Regions from separate parts of the Homo sapiens genome. Here region 2 is linked to region 1. Evidence: promoter capture Hi-C in human tissues and cell types (Jung and others, 2019). All regions are on one chromosome and are shown on one strand. Each heading gives the region's core, a stretch centred on a gene start or on the middle of the fragment in contact. The rest is flanking DNA. Distances are from core to core; before and after follow the strand shown.

The links. The method cuts DNA at HindIII sites, captures the fragments that hold promoters and counts their contacts. A contact is called where the count stands out against the background at its distance.
Region 2: a fragment that was not itself captured here is called in contact with the fragment with the promoter of SNRPG in region 1 in 1 of the 25 tissues and cell types used here (spleen).

Annotation. Positions count from the first base shown.
Region 1 is chr2:70,290,635-70,296,476 of GRCh38, reverse strand. SNRPG (small nuclear ribonucleoprotein polypeptide G) reads left to right here and starts at 2,737. Exons shown (of 4, transcript NM_003096.4): 1 at 2,737-2,859. The coding sequence starts at 2,828. LOC124906023 (a long non-coding RNA gene) reads right to left here and starts at 2,575. Exons shown (of 2, transcript XR_007086880.1): 1 at 2,545-2,575; 2 at 463-1,419. It overlaps FAM136A (family with sequence similarity 136 member A), which reads left to right. Exons shown (of 3, transcript NM_001329752.2): 3 at 1-501. RefSeq lists enhancers at 2,576-3,055, 3,072-3,979. The HindIII fragment of the contact is 9,687 bases long and covers 1-5,842 here.
Region 2 is chr2:69,712,224-69,718,773 of GRCh38, reverse strand. It overlaps a transcript of ANXA4 not described here. Among named protein-coding and RNA genes, the nearest start is that of ANXA4, 27 kb to the left of the region's middle. The HindIII fragment of the contact is 4,609 bases long and covers 184-4,792 here.

The DNA of each region.
Region 1 (5,842 bases), core at 1,488-3,987:
AAGGGGGTTTTGATTGTGATATATACTAGTATCTAGGAATGAACAGTAAAAGAGGAGCAGTTGGCTACTTGATTACAACAGAGTAAATGAAGTACTGGATTTGGGAAAACCTGGTTTTATTAGAACATATGGAATGAAAGCCTACACCTAGCATTGCCTACTTAGCCCCCTGAATTAACAGAGCCCAATTGAGACAAACCCCTGGCAACAGGAAATTCAAGGGAGAAAAAGTAAGCAACTTGGGCTAGGATGAGCTGACTCCCTTAGAGCAAAGGAGAGACAGCCCCCATTACCAAATACCATTTTTGCCTGGGGCTTGTGCAGCTGGCAGTGTTCCTGCCCCAGCATGGCACCTTATTGTTTTGATAGCAACTTCGTTGAATTTTCACCAACTTATTACTTGAAATTATAATATAGCCTGTCCGTTTGCTGTTTCCAGGCTGTGATATATTTTCCTAGTGGTTTGACTTTAAAAATAAATAAGGTTTAATTTTCTCCCCACTATTGAGTCTTCTTTCCTTATATCTGGGTGGTGAATATGTAACTTTCTCAGGATGCTTCTCCTTTTAACAGGTTAAATGAGTTAAAATGTCCAGAAGAGTGGAAATTAGTTGTTATGGTTCAGATGCAGAACTGGTTCACTGTAAATGGGAAAAACTTTGAGAGGAGACTAGGACATTGTGACTTGAAGTTCATTAATGTAGAAAAGAAACTGTCTATGAGGCTAAAAAGAGAAATTCATTATCTATGTCAGGTCTCTAGCTTCAACTAAACACTAATAGCAAGTGGTAGTAAAGGTACAAAGCTATGACCCTGCTAGAAAAAATTCAGTGTCTAGGATTTTGAGTACTAAGAGAGTGCAAAATATGTGATGAGTTTAAGTCTTTACTATCATTGATATTTATATAGAGCCATTCCAGAATATCAGGAATTAACTGAATTTTTGAGAACTATCCCCTATTTAAACACAAGGTATTCTATTTTGGTTTAGTCTTCTATAATTTTGGGGTAACAACTGGGAACAAGTCCGAGACCACTTTTTACACATCTTGACATGAAAAAAGAACACCTTATATTAGAAAATGTTTGTGTGCTGCACTTCACATTTTATATACAGGGGCAATAGCACATCAGTGAGTTCTGGAGGTAGTGTTTGAAAAATTTCAGAATTCCCAGGCATGCTGGCTAACCCCTGTAATCTCAGCACTTTGGGAGCCGGAGGCAGGCAGATCTCTTGAGGCCAGGAATTTGAGAACAGCCTGGGCAACAAAGCAAGACCTCGTCTCTACAAAAAAAAATTAGCTGGGTGCAGTGGCGTGCGCCTGTAGTCTCAACAACTCAGGAGGCTGAGGTGGAAGGATTGCTTGAGGCCAGGAGTTCGAGGTTGCAGTGAGCCATGATCACACCATGCTCCCCAGCCTAGGCGACAGAGCAAGAACTCATCTCAAAAAAAATTTTTTTTGCAAGACCCCTCAGTCAGAAATAGATTCAAATTCTTGGAGACAGACCCAGTCACCTTACTCTACAATGGTTCAGAGGCTGCTAATTTACATGTTACGGGAACCCTACTTGGTCTGACAGTATGCTGTAGGGTTACCTGCCAAAAAAATATAGAGGCCCAGCCGGGAGCGGGGGCTCACGCCTGTAATCCCAGCACTTTGGGAGGCCGAGGCCAGCGGATCACGAGGTCAGGAGATCAAGACCATCCTGGCTAACACAGTGAAATACGGTGTCTACTAAAAATACAAAAAATCAGCCCGGCGTGGTGGCGGGCACCTGTTGTCCCAGCTACTCGGGAGGCTGAGGCAGGAGAATGGCGTGAACCCGGGAGGCAGAGCTTGCAGTGAGCCGAGATCGCGCCACTGCACTCCAGCCTGGGCGACAGAGCAAGACTCCGTCTCAAAAAAATATACATATATAGAGAGAGGCCCATTCCTCCAGGGATCATTATCATTTGGTATATTGGTATATATGAAGAAAATAAGCGATACGATCCACAGACATGCGGGATTGGCCGGGTTTGCCCAGGAGCTAGAGACGGGACCGTTATCTCAATATCTCAATTTTATTTTTTAAATAGAGAAGGGGTCTCGCTATGTTGCACAGGCTGGTCTCGAACTCCTGGGCTCAAGAGATCCAAAGTTCTGGGATTTACGGCGCCCGGCTTTTTTTATTTATTTATTTATTTTTATTTATTTTGGCTGTTCCATAGACAAGAGCAGGGATAACCGGCTGGGCGCGGTAGCTCACGCCTGTAATCCTAGCACTTTGGGAGGCCGAGGCGGGCGGATAACGAGGTCAGGAGATCGAGACCATCCTGGCTAACACGGCGAAACCCCGTCTCTACTAAAAAATACACAAAATTAGCCGGGCATGGTGGCGGGCGCCTGTAGTCCCAGCTATTCGGGTGGCTGAGGCAGGAGAATGGCGTGAGGCCGGGAGGCGGAGCTTGCAGTGAGCCGAGATCGCGCCACTGCACTCCAGCCTGGGCGACAGAGCTAGACTCCGTCTCAAAAAGAAAAGAAAAAGAGCAGGGATACCCACCGGTGGAATACCCGTTATCTCAATTTTGTACAAGGAAAACGGAATTCAGAAAGGTGCCTAGAGGACGCACCCCTCCGTCCTGGCCAATCGCTGAGGACATAACCGGAAGCTCAACGATGACCGAGGCGCTGAGATATCGCGAGGTGAAATGTAAAAACTGCCAACAATCCATTGGCTAACGAGGTCGATGACGCCAGACGCAAGACGCCGGGCCTACAGCGGGAGCGTGAGGAAAGCCGTGCGTTGCGTTCCAAGGCATCTGTGAGCCCGCGGAGTATACACCATGAGCAAAGCTCACCCTCCCGAGTTGAAAAAGTAAGTATGTGTGAGAGCCAAACCGAAGTGGTCAGTTATTTGCGTCCTGCGAGTCCCTTGGTTCCCTCTCCGTTAGCCGAATGTCTTGAGCCGCTTCACTTCATTTCTTCTTCCGGTCCGAGGTCGCCGGGATCCCGGCCAGGCTCCCGCGCATGAGACGTGAAGCCCGCGCAGAGCTCGCGCGTCGGTGTGGTTACAGCCGGCAGCCACGGCACCTCCTTCCGGCCGACTAGTCTCCAGGTCCCGCGGTCTGGCCCCTGGTCACCCGGCGCTGTCCCTCGTTCCTTGAAGATCTCCAGTGCTACCTTTTGTTGAACATCTCGAATAGTATCATGTTCTAGATAGACGGCTAGAGGGGGAAATTCTCTGAAGGAACTAAGGAGGGGCTGGAAGGGAAGGAAGTGTTTTTAAAACTACGTGAGGCATCAGAATCCGAAAGCCACTTTAGTCTTAGCAAATGTGTTTGTAGGTGTTTGAGCTTTTACTTAGAAACCTCATTCCTTTTTCTTGCCTTCTTTTACGTTAAGCTTGAATGTCATGTGTTATCTTGCTCTGATGTTGAAACTATATAAGAACATTCATTTTTCTTTTTTTTTAAGAACATTAATTTTTTCTAGTCAGAGAAGGCTAATTTTTTGAAGTTTTTTCTACACACCCAGTAAAGTCAAACAACTTTAAGTAGGAGAGCCTTACTTTAGGTAGGACTCAACGTAAAGCTTTGAATTCCTCAAATACTTTTTGAGTGGACTTAACAGGTTATGTGTTTCCTGACTACGTTTCTGTTTTGCTTATACTTCCTGATGCTGGAATTCTACATGTATTAGTTGGATTGCACAAAGGATGCAAAATTTTTACAGGGATCAGTTTTTTCTGGCGTAGCATGTGGTTGGCTTTGTGTATAGTTAGTTCATTTATTACCAGGCCCATGGAAGTCAGACAAAAGGTAAAGTTCCTATTTAATAATTTTGCGGCCGGGCACAGTGGCTCACGCCTGTAATCCCAGCACTTTGGGAGGCTGAGGCGGGAGGATCACCTGAGGTCAGGAGTTCGAGACCAGCCTGGCCAACATGGTGAAACCCCCGTCTCTACTAAAAATACAAAAAATTAGCCAGGCAGGTGGTGTGCGCCTGTAGTCTCAGCTATTCCGGAGGTTGAGGCAGGAGAATCGCTTGAACCCGGGAAGCGGAGGTTGCAGTGAGTCAAGATCGCGCCATTGCCCTCCAGCCTGGGTAACAAGACCGAAACTCTGTTTCAAAAAATAATAATATTTTTGCATTTAAAGGTCCATTTGTATCAAAGCCATCTTTTGTATGAAAACTACTTCTATGTATATTTTAGTTAGGTCTGTTAAGGAATTAATTATTAAAACATAAGCCCAACGCGGTGGCTCACGCCTGTAATCCCAGCACTTTGGGAGGCCGAGGCGGGCGGATCACGAGGTCAGGAGATGGAGATCATCATGGCTAAAACGGTGAAACCCCGTGTCTATAAAAATACAAAAAATTACGTGGGCTTGGTGGCGGGCGCTTGTAGTCCCAGCTACTCGGGAGGCTGAGGCAGGAGAATGGCGTGAACCCGGGAGGCGGAGCTTGCAGTGAGCCGAGATCGCGCCACTGCACTCCAGCCTGGGCAACAGAGCGAGACTCCGTCTCAAAAAAAAAAAAAAAAATAGAAGTTACTCAGAAATTATTGTGAAAATTACTCTTTTTATCTGAAAGTTATTTTTGGTGATGTAAGTATCCTCTGGATTCATCAGGGACTGGTGAAATGGTGATTTTTTTTTTTTTAACAAAAAGACCATTCTCTACTTGTAATCTAAGATTTTCTTTCTGATTCATAACATAGTTTTTGAAAATTTCAGAGAAGGAAGCTAGTTTTAATACCTTTCTCTTCCTCGTAGGTTTCATGAATTGTGAAATCCGGTCAGATCTGCCGCCAAAATGACTTAAAAATTTTTTCTTCCTCTGCTTTCTCACAGATAGCATCTTCTTTTACACCATTATGCCCTCCTTCTGGTGTAGCATAACTCAGGTGTTCTTAAATGGGGAGTAGGGAATCTGGTGCTACCGGCTTCTAGTGAGTAGACACCAGGGTGCTGCTAAACATCCTACTGCTTATTCGACTGCCCCCAACAATACAAAATTAACTGGTCCCAAATGTCAGTAGTATAGAAGTTGAGATACACTGGCTTAACTGAATTCTTCCTTCCACTTCTTAAAATTTGCTGCCACGGTAGTCTTGCCAGTGACTGCTTTAATAATTTATCACAGTATGCAAAATCGAGTCTGTACTTAACCCAGCATTCAAGCACCAAACCTTCTAGCTGCTAATACTCAGGTATTCCGTTCTCCAGTCACACTGAACTATTTGTGTTTGCTCTCACTTGCTGTGTGACTTTGAAAAATTGCTTTAGCTTTTCCAAGCCTAGTTCTCCATCTGTAAAAACGGTGGAAATGATAGACCATAATTGCAAAGTCGTTGTAAAGATTGTATAAGATCTTGTGTGTTATATTTGATACGTTTTATGTATCTTATTAAAATATAGTTTACTTCATATATGTGTGTGTGTGTGTGTGTGTGTGTGTGTGTGTGTGTGTGTGTGTTTTGAGATGGAGTTTCACTCTTATTGCCCAGGCTGGAGTGCAGTGGCGCGATCTTGGCTCACCGCAACCTGTGCCTCCCGGGTTCAAGCGATTCTCCTGCCTCAGCCTCCCGAGTAGCTGGGATTACAAGCATGCACCAACACACCCGACTAATTTTTTTTTTTTTTTTTTTTTTTTTTTTTTTTTTTTTTAGTAGAGACGGGTTTTCTCCATGTTGATCAGGCTGGTCTCGAACTCCCGACCTCAGGTGATCCGCCCGCCTTGGCCTCCCAAAGTGCTGGGATTACAAGCATGAGCCACCGCGCCCAGCCCATAAATATATTTTTACTTGTAAATGTATCTACTCCCTCCTTCAGTCATGCTCCTTGTTTTATATTTAC
Region 2 (6,550 bases), core at 1,239-3,738, 580 kb after region 1:
TGTGTGTGTATGTGTGTGTATGCATGTATGTGTGTGCATTTGTGTATGCATGTGTGTGCATGTGTGCGCATGTGCATGCATGCATGTGTATACGTGTGTACATGTTTGTGTATGCATGTGTGTGCTGTGGATAGGGCTGGTGGGAGAGAAGGAAACCCCAAAGCACAAGAAGCAGCAGGTATAAAGCCCTGGAGCCAAAGAAGTCATGACAGGTTCTGGAAAGTGTAAGTAATTCCACAAGTCTGAACCTGAGTGATTCTATGACCTCTTCCAGTGACCTCAAATTCTGGCTAAGCATTTCCCAAACGTAGCTGAAATAGTATCTACTTGAGAAAGTTGAATATAATTTAGTTCCTGGCTGGTGTATTACATCCCCCCAAGAATCTCTTAAGAGATTGTCAGGTAAAGAAGGAAGGGTGAAATGACAAACATCCAGAGGGTGGGGGTGCCATTTATATTGCAATCCATCTCCCAGTGGTAGCCTTCTTTGGGAATTCTGACCAGCTGGGGGGACCTTTCCCCACAGGTTCAAGCTTTTGTCTAGCAAATCTGGGGTCCTCACTTCTGTTATGTAGATGGGAAGCAAGGTTCTCCTGGGGTTACACAGCAGGAACTTGACATTTGGAGAATGTGATTGATGAGTTCTGTCCTCCCACAGAGAAGTCCCATGGTGAGAGAGGGCTCTAGAAGCCAAGTAGCCAGGGGACTTTCCAAACTAAACATCTGCTATGAAATGCAGACCGCACTGAGCTATGCCTGACCTAGCTAGACATACAGCCTTAGGGTATCAAGCATCTCCCTAGCCAGGGTTTCCCCATTAAAACTATTCCTTTTAATTCCAGCTTTCTTACTTAGAGGACCCCTGCTGAAACATTCTAGAGGGAAGGGAGTGCATAGGTTGTGTACGTCTCTTAGTTTGCCTGTCATCTGGTAGAAAGCCAAGGCCCATAGGGATCCAGGCACATTCTAGTTTAGTTAGTGCCTGAAACAAGCAAACTGGATGAGGTACCAGTCCCAGGCATCAGGAAGGCTCAGGGCATCTGCTGCAGAGGCAAGGCTTTGTGGGGAGGGGTCACAGGGAACAACATATTCCAAAGAAGATGAAACAAAGAAAAGCAAAGTTTCCAGTTAGATACGTGGAGTTAAAGAGGAAATGGCGGTAACAGAAAGATGCAGCGACGGGTAATTCCAGAAATGAAAAGGATGGGACATCAGGCCTTTCTGCTTCAACTCAAAGTCAGATCCCTTGAACTCACAAAATAATATTGGCTGATACCCTGGAGAGGGAGGCCTTTGTTACCCTCATTTATGATGCAGGAATAATGATCAAATGCCACCTGCTTGTGTCGATGAGCCAGGCCTGACAATTAAAGGGTGGGCGCCAGGATGGGCTTTGGGAGTGTGGGATGAAAGGCACTGGATGAGAACAAAGGGGCCATGGTGGGAGTTTTCCAGCACCAGCCTCAGTTTTCTGCACAGAAGCCTCCTGCCACCTCAATGCCAGCTTTGAAGGCATAGGCAGGCAAAGAAAACCAACAAGCCAAACAAAATGCATATGGATGCTTTTAAATGGGCATGTTCCTATTCAGTGGGCATGAATTGGAGAATATTCATCTTCAGCCACCTCCTGCACCCTCAGGGCGTCAGCTCCTCCTTCCAGGACCACTGAAGAGATGGAGCCCCCACCCCAGCCCCTCTGCTACACGATGCTGCTTTACGGTCTCCCCTGCACTTCCCTTGTTTCTTGATTGGTTTCTCTGGTTATCATCTGTTTTGTCTTGCCACAGTGTGATGCCAGGGAGCAGAGGCTGGACGGTGTTCTCCTCCACACAGTGCTTGGCCAGTAGTAGGCAGACAGCAAACAGCTGAATTGATGACTCAGAAAAACTTAAACATCGCCAACTCTGTCATCTCTTTTAGTAAACCTACTGGACAATTCCATTTAAATGTATGATACTTACTTCAAACTGCACATGAACAAAACACAACTCTTTTCGTTCTTGCCCTCCCCTCTGGCCAATGACCAAGTCAAAAACGTCGAGTCATTTTCCATCCTGAGCTCTTCACCTGGATTCCCGGAGCAGCCTCATAACTAATCCGCTGCCCTCCTGTTGTGCTGTCTCTCAGACCCGTTCTCCCGAGTGATCTTCTCAAAACGAGCTTGAGCATGTCACACCACTGCTTGAAACCCTTTGGGGGCTCCCTGTCGCCCTCACATAAAGACCAAACATTTTAACCTGACAAACAAGGCCTTCCCTGATGTGGCTCTCGCCCGTCTCTCCAACCCCCTCTGCACATCTCAGCTCAAGTCATCCTGAGCTGCTCGCAGTTCCTCGAGTGCAGCTGCTGTTACGTTCACCCTCTGCCTCTCCTCTTATCTTTCTGGTGAATCCCTTTTTTCCTGGTTCACCTGTTCTATGAAGACTTTTTTTGACCAGTATTGTATTTCTCAGGACTCTTGACTTTAAGGGACAGAAACCCAACACAAACTAGCTTCAGTTAAAAGGGGATGTATTAACTCATTTAAGTAAGGACTAGACAGAGCCACCACAGGAATGGCTAGATCCAGACACCCAAACAATGCTGTCAGCTCTCTCTCTCTCTCTTACTCATATGTACATGTATTTTGGCTTCTTATTATGAGTTGGTCTCATCCTTTCTTGCTAGAGGAGACTGTACTCACAGAGAACTCTAGACTTACATACAGTTTGATCACTCCAGGAGAGAGTGAGGCTTCTTTCTCCCAGTCTCAGGTTATTAAAATTATGGGAAAGGCTAAGAGTAGCCTGGCTGGTGACGTGTGCCCAGCACTTGGCCCATGACTAGAGGGACAGTGTTGTGATTGACCATGCCTTGGACTCTCTTTCTTGACCTAGGAAGAAAGAATGGGTATTCCTCTTGAGGGAGCAGCTGCCAGATAAAAGAGGGAGTCTGTTATCACATAAAGAGGGTAGACCACTGATGTCTCCTTCTTACCCCTCCCTCCACCTCCATTTATGTTCCCACTGCCCTCTGTGCATAGGCACAGAAGGGGACAAAACACATTTTGGACTCAGATAGACATAGAGCCAGTTACTGGCTTTATAGTAACTATGTGACTTTGGGAATGTTTTAAGCCTCTTCGTGCCTCTGCATTTGCATCTGTACAATGTTTTAGGGATGTGTTGTGAGGGTTAAAAACCTAGGCAAATTATCTGGGACATAGTAGGTACTATGGCAGTCATAACAATTATATTTGACCATCTCCCTTTTCTAAACCATGATTTGGCCAGGCGTGATGGCTTATGCCTGTAATCCCAGCACTTTGGGAGGCCGAGGTGGGAGGATCACTTGAGACCAGGAGTTCAAGACCAGCCTGGCCAATATGGTGAAACCCCGTCTCTACTAAAAATACAAAAAGTAGCCAGGCATGGTGGTGCGTACCTGTAATCCCAGCTACTTGGGAGGCTGAGGTGAGAATCGCTTGAACCCAGGAGGGGGAGGTTGTGGTGAGAGGAGATTGCACCACTGCACTCCAGCCTGGGTGACAGAGCGAGACTCCATTTCAAAAAATAAATAAATAAAATAAAATAAAAAACAAACCATGATTTGCTTGAGGCAGGGCCTTATTTTAGGCAAAATTTAACTTGGTTATAAGAGCAGGGCTCAAATATATGATGGATTGATTTCTGTCCACTGAAACAGGATGATACTGAAAGATAAGGCAAGTTTTGCAGATGAGGGAGATATTCAGTTCTGTCTTCTTCAATCTTGGCTTTATGATACTGGCCCATTGTTATTATGTAGTCTTCTGTTTCAAGCTCTCCAAAGCATCTCCACATCTGTTACTTGACTTCACTGTGTCACCCTGGAGGGAGGACCTTGCGTTAGGCTTCATGAACAGATCTGATGAGGTATCCACAAGACACAAGGTTAACCAAGAATGGGCAGCAGGGGGCGTTGTGGACAAGCCCCGGGGAAGCCAAGGGAAAAACTGCAGAGGTTCTGAACCTAGACCTGCCCAACGTCCTGCTGACCGACTCAGGCACCTCCGGACCTGGGTGTCTGGCTATTGATTGGGTACATGCTGAAGCACGCTTGCCTCCCAGGGCATCCCATCACAAATTAGGCCCCAGCTCTGGGATCTGGCCCAACGCAGGCCCTCTCCCATGTATAGGAGCTGTGGGGACAACACAGGAGGTTAATGGGAGCTCGGCCAGGATCCCAGGAAATAAAGCACTGAGGTTTGATACACTGATGGGCACACTGTGGACAGCAGGCTGGCTGGACTGGGGCAGGTGGAGTGTTATGTGAGTTTTCGGTCACGTGCCCTCGCCGAAGCCCCGTCTCTTATATTCTTAGGCTTCCTTCGGCTTCGGTTGCCAGGAGTAGGTGCTTGTATTCTATAGAGTCGTTTATATTTGAAATCCTGCATGGATGCATTTGGTCCTCACCGCATCCTTCCTCCCTTCCGGAAACTGTACGCTCCCCTCCTTAGAAGGTCACTTCTCCACTCCATGGGGTTCTGGTGGGGCTCCCAGAATGTGCCCACATCTCCACCCTTACCCCACCCCCCGGCCCACCCAGCCACTGGAGGTGGGAAAGAGCTAGGGCTTGTCAGAAGGCAGACCTTGAAGGAGAAGAGCCTCCCAGTAGGGAGGTCAGGAATGTGCTCAAAATCCAGGCTCAGATGTCTTCAAAAGCCTGGAGAGATGTCACCCACCAGGCACTGTGGTCTTTGGCAACTCATGTGGGACAGAGGTGTAGACTAAAGAATGTTCTGCCCCATTCTCTTGCGGAGGACAGAGCAAGGGAGAGTAGAGCTCCTTCCATATTCGAATTTCCCTTTCTCCTCTTCACGGCAGGGAGTCCGACCTTTGTGTTCCTCCATCAAGTGGAATTTGTGCTGCAGGGTAGACAGCGAAAGCTGCTGAGGCATAACCGTTTTTCCCCCATTCTTTCTTTTTGTGAAAGGCAAAACTCCTCAAAGTCCTAAACTGTTAAGAGAGTTAGGTGCCCCAAGAGGAGACGGGAGAGCGGTGATGCCTTCAGGGCAGCAGCAGAAGCAATGGAAGGATGGATGAGGAACCCCACAAAGGGGAGAGAACTCTGGAGTCTGTGAAGAGCGGGGAGCTGAGACCCAACTCGTTATGTTACGGGTTGTGTGTTGCTGGATCCGGCAGGTAACAGCTTGCTGGACTGAATGTTAAAGTCTCAAGAGTTTTACAAACTGATTGACTTTACTTTTTAAATTGGCTTTATTGAGGTGTACAATTTACATACTTGGAAGCAGCTATGGTAGAAGTGTTTTTACACCATGGAGATTGGCACATACTACAATTCAGGGCTTTCTCTCTGCCCCAGAGCCAGCTGCTAAACATTTACCAGCACACCACCGAACATAAGAGTGGCTTCTTCCAATCTTATCATCCACATATCGCTTCTTCCTTGGGGAGAATGAGTGACAAGAATGGGAGGGAGAGGGCCAGAAAGTGTGTTACACCAATAGCACTCCCCTGAAAATGGAGTAGAGGTTCTTCATGGAAACAAAGAATGGAGATAGAGGGGCTCCCTCTACCTTCCTTCCATCCTTTCATTTTCTTTTTTTTTTTACTTCATAATAATGACTATACTGAAGATTTCAGGAAAGAATAGGAGGCAGCAGGGTGGTGGTTGAGAGTAAGGCTTTGGAGTCAGATGGCATTTGGGTTCCCACAGCAGCTCTGCCACTCTCTAGTTGTGTGGTGTTGTATAAAGTGAGCAAGGTCAGAGTGGGAAGTATTGTTGTATGTATTTAGGGTAGAAGCCAGTCCACTCTGGTCATCTGAGCTCTGTTGGGGATCTTCATTGGCCCCAAAGAGTCCTGTTTTCATCTTCTCTGAGCCACTGCAATGAATGAATGGTGGTAGGCGTCCACAAACCTGGTGCACAAAATGTGGATAGGATTTAGGTGATATCTTCACAACTCAAGAAGAACCCAGGCTTCAACAGTCCAAGAAGCTGTAATCTCCTTCTTCTAGGCACATCTGAAAACAAAATGCCAAATGGGAGGTCCTGTTGCTAATGTTGGTCCTCCAGTTCTTTACGAGGGAGTGGGTAGATCCCATGGCCTGTCTGAATGTCACTTTCCTCATCCATAGGGTAGAAATGACAGGATAACCTCATTATCTTTTGTGAATCCATATTAAAAGGCCCAGAACCATTGCAAATTTGTTACTGAAACTTTCTGGAGTTCCCCAGTTGGATCCAATTAGGATCATTACTGAGATGGTTGTCTCCCCTAGGCTGAAAGAAAAATGCCACCGTTAACCTTTAATCATTCACAACAAACCCAAAGAAAAAGTCCTTGGCCCAGGTCCTAATAGGGCTATTAAAGCTATTTTCCTATTCAGCTGCTTAGACTCGGAGTGAATAACCCGGTAATTTTCTACTGCTTCTCCCCACGGAATGTAAAGGACCAAGAGAGTGAACTCTCCTAACTAATGCGCTTTAAGGCAGGGGCCAGATTTTACCTTCCTGTCTCTTGGTTTGCTTCCACCCTCCAATTTTCTCCTTTGGTTGTTTTATTTTA